Regions from separate parts of the Homo sapiens genome. Here region 2 is linked to region 1. Evidence: promoter capture Hi-C in human tissues and cell types (Jung and others, 2019). All regions are on one chromosome and are shown on one strand. The core of a region is centred on a gene start or on the middle of the fragment in contact, and the rest is flanking DNA. Distances in the headings are between cores, read along the strand shown. Region 1 holds the start of CFL1 (cofilin 1). Region 2 holds the start of CD248 (CD248 molecule).

Region 1 (3,671 bases), core at 1-2,500:
CTCTGCGTCGTGCTTCGGGGTGCCCGAGCCAGGAGAGGGAGGGGCAATCCAAGGTAAATCTGGTCCCCCAAACTCCCCGGAACTGCAGAAGAAGCCGGCCACGTGACTCGGCCGCATCCGGAGTGGGCGGGGACAGGAGATCGGCTGGGCCCGGCCCCCTCACCAATGCAGAAACGCGTATCCGAGAGGCAGCAGCATCTCCAGGTCCCTAACCCTGTGGAATCGCCCTAAAACAACGGGTGTATCAGACCCATCTCCTGCAGGCAGGAGCCTGGGCAAGCTACATAACCTTCGGTTTTCTCAGCCCTCGGGCCGTATACAGGGGGCGGGGTGGTTTCCGGGCGGTGCCCGCCTGGGTCACTTCCCTAAACTCGGCTCCACCCTCACTCAGGCCCATCCGGGAAGGCCTCGCTGGCCCAGGGCTTCGGCACCGGCGGCCGGGCCTGAGCGTGCGCGCACGCGCCGACAGACAGCGCCGTTCCAGCCCTCGCCCGATGCACGGGTGAGAACGCAGCTCGTTAGATGCGCTCCCGAACGGGCCGCGGTCTCTGCGATGCCCCCTCCAAGCCTTGCGGTGCAAGGCCTTAATCGCAGGCACCCACGCCCCAACCGGGACCCCGTCTTCCCAGCATCACCCCTCGCCGCGCCAGCACCCGCCCCTCCCGGGCGCAGGCATCCCTGCCACCTGCTCCCGAGACGGACCCGGCTGCCGAGGGAGGGTGACGCGCAGACAGGAACAGCCTTGGGTGGGGCGCGCGCGCCGAGACCTCTCGCGCGCTTTTTCCTCGCCGCCCCCGGGCCGGGTTTGGACGCCGCATGCTCCAGTCGAGAGCGCGCCCCTAAGAAGAAAGGCGCGACGCCGGCCGTTCCGCGAGGGGCGCCCCAGCGCGCGCCCCGAACCCCTCCCCCCGCGGCCGGTGTCCGCGCGGGCGCACCAGCGGGTGGGGGAGGGGAGCCCAGGCGGAGCGCGAGCGACGTCCAGACCGGCCCTCCCCGGCGCCCACGGGCGCGCACGCGCATTCCGGCACCGCCCGCCCCTTCGTGCGAGACCCTCATCCCGCCCGGGGCGCTGGGGGAGGGGGTGCGGACGTCGCTCCCCAGTCGCTTCCCGCGCGCAGGCGACCGACCCGCAGCCGCCTCCCTCAGGCGCCGTGGCCTGCCGCTCACCATGTTTCCGGAAACGAAAAGGAGAGGGCACCGAGAGCCGCAGAAGACGAGAGCGCTGCAGCCGCTGCCGGGACCCGACTGAACGCGGCCTCTCCCGGCCCCTTCCGTTTAGTAGGAGCCGCACAATGAGGGGTGGGGCGGGCTTCCGGCGCTCCCACCGCGAGCCGACGGGAAATGGAGTCCGCTGGCCCTGCGCCGCCGCCTCGCTCGCTGGGTAACGGAGTCTTCCCGCCGGCCGGCTCCGAGCTGCAGTGCATGTAGGGAAATGTAGGCCCAGGTCCTGGGCGGCACCGCAGCGCGCAGCGCGAGCCCATTGGTCCAATTTCCCAGGAACCGCTCTGAGCCCGGCGAGGCGGCGCTCAGTAAAATGACCCGAAAACGATCCCCGACTAAGCGGCTCTTTATCCCACAGCAAAACGGCTTTCTTAAGACCCATCTGGTATTATCTGGATCCCTTGGCCTGAAATTTTTGAGTGAGGTTAGGGTTTTGCATTTCTGAATCGAAGCAACTATTGATTAGCCTGGAATCCCGACCTAAAGCAAAGGAAATCACAAGTATGAAGGCGTCGTCAGTCGGATAAACACTAGTACTCTGCATGTGTAAAGCCACTCTCGTCTCCTGAAAAAAGGCCATGTCCAACGTCAGTAAAACAAGAATAGGAGGAAAAGGCACAGGGGAAAGGTACAAGGAAATCTCTGAGAGCTTTGTTCTTGTTTAAAGATGTTTGGCAAAGTCATGAGGCGTTAAAGGGTAAAGACGAGGGTTTGTGCATTCAATTCAAGGCTTCTTTACATGCCTTTACGTGCCAATGAGAAGAAATAGATATTAAACCAGACTTGAACCCAGCTCTCGAGTTGATAGCCAGGTACATGGTTATTCTAACATCCGCAAAACTGAGACAAGTTCTGTGGTAGTATATGCCTTAAAAAAAAAAAGAAACGAGCGGGGGACTCCGGGATGATTTTGTTGTTCTAGAACAGTGACCACAGCCTCACACTCTGCAGGAAAAGACTGGGTCGCAAACAAGTCAGAGGCAAACCCAGAAAGGGAACTGGGGGCCCTAATCCTATAAACGGAATTAAGGGTGTAAACGGAGAGCGATGCCTGGGAGTGGGGTACCTTGCAGAGCATACCGGGGGTTGTAGTCGGGGACATTCCACAGCACCGCCCCCGCCCGGACTCCCGGCGCTCCAGGTGGAGACAGCAGCTTGACCCCGCCTCCCGCGAGCGACCCTACATGAATATGAGGCTAGCGCCCCCTTTTCTGAGCCTTAGAGTTTCCAAGAGCAACGGGGAGAGAGAGGGGGGCTTCGCAGTTACCCTGGAGACGCGCTCTCGCCCGCCCCCAGCCGCGGGATGCCCTAGATGTCCTTATTAGGACAAGAGACTCGAGGGGGCGGGGCCAGCCCGACAGCCGGCTTGAGGCTCCTTATAAGGCCGCGGCGGGCGGGAGGCGGGAGCCGGAGCCCATTGGTCCAATTTAGCTTGGCTGGGGCTACTGCGCCGTGGGCTAGGCACAGTCCTGAGGGGCGGGACTGGAGCTCTGGCGCCCACCTCTCCCTTCCTCGCAGGCTGGAGACCTGCGTGTTGCGACTTCCGGCATAGCAGCTAGAGGCCGGGTGCTGCTTCAAACCCTGGCGGGTCGCCTGTGTCCAACTCAGCTATACGTGTCTTTCAGGCTTCTCAGGTTGAAGCCCTTTGTAGGGTTTCCATCTTCAACCTCCCTGAGGGTCTCCCACTTCCGATTAGCCACAAAAATGACGAAGTGTTCTCCCCTCTACCTGTGTCTGGGCTTCTTAACCCGCAGCCTGCTCCTCCGCTCCCAAACCCAACCGCGTGCCCATCTCAGGCCTCCCCAACTGCCAGGATGCCCAAGCACCTCTTACTTACAGTCCTCCTTCCTCTAGGCCTCTGACCCCCGACATTCCGAGTTCTATTTTGGGCCTTCTCGGCACGTCCCCGACTTCCTCTCCACCACACACTCTTTGCCCTGTATCCCGGGGATGAGGATCACCATTTCCTCCAAGGGTCCTGCAGCTCCTCCTGCCTTACCTTTGTGTCCTCATCCCCGGCACCCATTTCTGGGTGTCCCTCCCACCAATACGTTTGCACCCGTTTGTCTCCTAGCCCCCGCCTCTCCTGGACTCTTTTCAAGACCAGTCTCCATCTCCAGCCTCCTTCAAGCTTGAGGCTGAAGCTGACAATCTTAAGAGACCTTAGAGCCGCCAAGCTCAGGTTAGTCCGTTAAGCGCCGCCCAGCCAGTCCTCCCCGTCACAGGGGGCGCTGTCCGCCTTCCTCTCGCCTACACAAAGACCCCGCTCTCGAATCTGGGGTGACAGGAAGGAGCCGGTCCAGGCTCCGGGGGCTGGGAAAGGGCGCGTCTCAAAGGCTGGCTGGAGTGGAGCCAAGGGAAAAGATCGTTAGAGACAGCGCCCCTGACCAACCACTTAGAGCAGCGCAGGGGTGGGAGGGCGGCCGCAGGCTCTCCTCTCGTTAGTGCCC
Region 2 (3,893 bases), core at 145-2,644, 460 kb after region 1:
GTGTGGGATGCGTGGCAGAGACCACCACAGGCCGGGTGACGGAGAGCACTGAGGAGTGGTAGGGGACCCTGGGGGCACTGAGCGGGGGTGGCCAGGTGGGCTCCGGGTAGGGTATCTGTGGCTCTCTGTCCTCTGGGAAGCTCGGTCTATAGGCCAGGGCAAAGTCAGGCGGCTGCGTAGGCTCCATCCACAGGATCCCAGGCATCTCCGTCCAGCCACCGTTGAAGGCCTTCCAGGCCTCGTCTTCATCTTCCTCATCCTCCCCGTCATCCAGCAACTCATCTCCGAGGTCCTGGGAAGCCTGGGCACCCATGGCCCCTGCAGGGCTGCAGCTGATGCCATCAGCCTCCAGCTCATGTCCCTCGCTACAATAACACTCGAAGCCACCAACGTAGTTGACACACATCTGCTGGCACACACCGGCAATCTGGCACTCATCTGTGTCCACACAGCGGTGCGGATCATCCTCCGCTGGCCGGAAACCCAGGCGACAGTGGCAGCTGTAGCCTTGTGGCCCACCGGGCTCACACTGCTGCTCGCACGGAGCCTGGGCACAGGGGTCCTCGCAACTGCGCCCGTCTGCTGCCAGCCGGAAGCCCTCAGTGCAGCGGCAGGACACGTGACCATCCACCTCCTCCACACATTCGTGTTCGCAGCCCCCGTTGTCAGGGCTGCAGCCAGTCCCCAGGCACAGGGGCCCAGCCCGTGACCAGCCCACACCTCCCTCAGGCTGCTTCACGCAGAGCAGAGAGGCTCCCCTGCCAGCCTGGCACTGCACAGCGGCCACAGAGCCGAAGGGCAGCCACTCAAACTCTGTGGAGACCAGGTGGAAGGGCGTGGTATACACGGCTGGGCCGGCCTGGCCCGCCTCATCTTGCAGCGCCGGGCAGGCGCCCTCGAAGCCAAACTGGCACAGGTAGCCGTCGACAGCCAGCGTGCACGAGCCCTCCAGCCAGCGGTGCTCGCCACTTGCCTCCAGGGCCACACAGCGCTGGGCCGGGCAGGGGCCTCCAGAGGCTGGCTGGGCCCAGTTGGTGAAAGCCGTGTCCTGGTCCCCTGTGGTCCACGTGAAGCCGCGCAGTGGGCGCTGCAGCTGGCATTGCCGGGCCTGCCGCTGCAGCCCGATCCACAGCAGCCGGCTGGCTGGGCCCGCACCCACCAGGCTGTCCACACGCTGGGCCTCCTCGGGGGTCCGAGGAGTGGCCAGGTCGCCCCCCAGCTCGCGGCAGGCCCGCCAGGCCTCCAGGAAGGTGCGGCGCCGTGGGAAGAGAGCGTAGCAGCTGCTGGGGCCGCAGGCGGCACGGGGCTCAGCAGCCCAGGGGTCCTGGCCCAGTGTGGGCCCTGCGGCCGCCCAGGCCAGCAACAGGCGCAGCAGCATCGCGATGCCCCCGGACTGGTCCGGCCCCGGGCTGGCGGCAGCTCTTGACAGGGGGAGGGCCTGGGGCCTCCTGCGGGCGGGCCGGGGGCGGGCCTGGGGCCGGGCTCAGGCCTTGTAAGGAGTGGGCTGGGGCGGCTGCCAGCTCCCTGCTCCCTCTTCCCCGGGGGCCGCTAGAGCAGGAAGCAGTGGGGTGGGGGGCTCTAAGGTTGGGGGCGGAGGAGGGGAGAAGGCGCAGTTGACGGCTGCCCCAGGCCCCATGGGGCTGAGAGTCAGGGGGTGGGAAAAGCCTGCCTGCCGAGCTCTGTGACCCTCAAGTTGGGGCTCGGGGCTGTGGGGTGAGGTCGCTTCCCAGAGACTCAGAGACCCAAATCTGGACACAGCAGCCCCATCACACCCGGGAGCAGTCTCAGCCCAGCTGCTCGCCATGCACGGGAACACCCTCATGCCCACTCCTTTCTTGCCCCACAGACGCGCGCATGCGCCTCCCCCACCCCCAACCCCATGCAAGAGTGCACTCTCTGCCAAGCTGTTTGTCCCTTCACCTCACCGTGGACCTATGCTGGCTTGCAGATGACTCCCTTGCCACACGTACACACATTCTGACATGCTGAGACCCTAGGTGCACATACAAAAATGGTGTGGCATTCTACATGGCCTGACATATGAAGACCTCCGATTCGGCCTGAATGGAAACAGCTTGGTCACCCAGGCACAGGCATCCTCAGCCTCTCATTTATTTACTGAGCCCCTGCGTCAGCCTCTCCCCCTATACTCAAGCTTTCTGGTTCCAGCTGGGCCAGCGTGTGGGGGTGTTGGGGGAGTGAGGGGGCCAGGGGCTGCCCTCCCCTCACCCCAGCTCAGCCTGGGGCCCTGGGAACCTGGGCTTAGAGGGGGAGGAGGCAGCCCCTAAACAGGAAATGCCTCTCTGGGCTCCTGCGTCAGGAAGGCAGGGTGCGTGGTTTAGGGGGCTGGGTGGGGGCTGGGCTGCACGCAGGATGTGGAAGGCTGTGAGGGGACCCATGCAAGGCCATGTATGGGCATGGGGCACACAGTGACATATATGTGTATATGTGACACAGGCATCACGTGTGTGGAGCCCTCCCTGCCCCCGGGGCCTGCTGTTTCGGCCTGGCCAGGGTCCTCTTCCCGCCCTTCCTGGAGGCCTCTGGAGGCATGTGCACTGAGCCCATCATCCAGGATGGCCTCTGGGGAGCTGGCTGGCGGATTAACCCATGCACACCCGCTGCACTCTTAGCAGAAGTTAGAAACAGTGTGGGGAGGTGGGGGAGAGGTTCCGCCCTTCAGTAAACTGCCCTGATGCAGCTTCCCCCTCTGCCACAGATGGATCGACTTTGTGACTGCAGGGGAGTCACTGGCCCTCTCTGGGTCTCCTTTTTTCTCAGTTGCAACATGAGGGCAATGAGTCCAGGATTTTTAGCTCAGCAGGGCTGAGATATTGCGTCACAGCGCTCAGTGTTTGCAAATGTGCTTTGTCAGCTGTGGAGCCTGAAGCAAATGTTCCTGTCTTCTGAGCATATGTGGTGGGTGGAGACCAGGGTGCGTTTTTGCAAACCACCTTACAGTGCCTAGGCTGGCCCTGCAGACCCAGCCAGCCCCTCGAGAACCAGGGCTTAGGAAGTTCTTGCCATATGCCTGGAAGTTCCTTCTTACAAGGTCTATACATGTGAAGCACACAGAATGACTCCCCTTCTCAGGAGACAAAAGTCAAGATGGAGGAGTTCATCCTTCTGTTGGCTCAGGCCCCAAACCTTGAGGTCATGCTTGACTCCTCTCTTTCTCCCACAGCCCACATCCAGTCTCTCAGCAAATCCTGTTGGCTTCACTTTCAAAAGAGATCCAGAATCTGACCACTCCTGGACACCTTCTTTGCCACCCACCCCCGGCCCAGGTGGCTAGCAACGCCAATCTAGATTTCCCCAACAGCCTCTCCCGTGGTGTCTCTCTTGCCCTCTCCATCCTGCCAGAGGGATCCTTTCAAAATCCAAGTCAGATCTGATCACTTCTCCATTCAGAACCCTCTGAGCCCCCCATCTCGCTTAGAGGAAGGGCCACAGTCCTTGCCATGGCCTCCTGGTCTATGTCATCTGCCTCCAAACTCTGGCCTCATTGCTGTTCCTTAAATGCTCCAGACACTCTGCCTCACAGCCTTGGTCTTGGCTGTTCCTGCTGCCTGGAATGCTCTTCCTCCAATATAAAAATGCTCTGCTTCTTTACCTTCTCCAGGGCTCAGCTCAAGTACCAGAGTCCTTGACCATCTCACCCCACCCCACACCGCCCCCTGGGGCTCCTTGACCACTGGATCTTCCTGCATTTTCTCGCTCTGCACTTATCACTATCTGACATTAAATATATTTACTTGTGAAATTAGTTGGACGTGGTGGTGCACCTGTAATCCCAGCTACTCGGGAGGCTGAGGCAGGAGAATCATTTGAACCTGGGAGGTGGAGGTTGCAGTGAGCCAAGATTGCGCCACTGCACACTCCAGCCTGGGCGA

Evidence for each region. Contacts are between HindIII fragments. The study calls those that stand out against the background at their distance.
Region 2: the fragment with the promoter of CD248 here is called in contact with the fragment with the promoter of CFL1 in region 1 in 1 of the 25 tissues and cell types used here (spleen).

What each region holds. Positions count from the first base shown.
Region 1 is chr11:65,856,930-65,860,600 of GRCh38, forward strand. CFL1 (cofilin 1) reads right to left here and starts at 1,251. Exons shown (of 4, transcript NM_005507.3): 1 at 1,168-1,251. The coding sequence starts at 1,170. It overlaps MUS81 (MUS81 structure-specific endonuclease subunit), which reads left to right and starts at 3,504. Exons shown (of 16, transcript NM_025128.5): 1 at 3,504-3,671. RefSeq lists silencers at 817-1,216, 2,627-2,706 and enhancers at 823-1,363, 1,297-1,346, 1,737-1,806, 2,367-2,456, 2,977-3,026 and 2 more. The HindIII fragment of the contact is 15,299 bases long and covers 1-3,671 here.
Region 2 is chr11:66,315,650-66,319,542 of GRCh38, forward strand. CD248 (CD248 molecule) reads right to left here and starts at 1,395. Exons shown (of 1, transcript NM_020404.3): 1 at 1-1,395. The coding sequence starts at 1,378. RefSeq lists enhancers at 144-840, 3,397-3,893 and a silencer at 1,324-1,593. The HindIII fragment of the contact is 8,045 bases long and covers 1-3,893 here.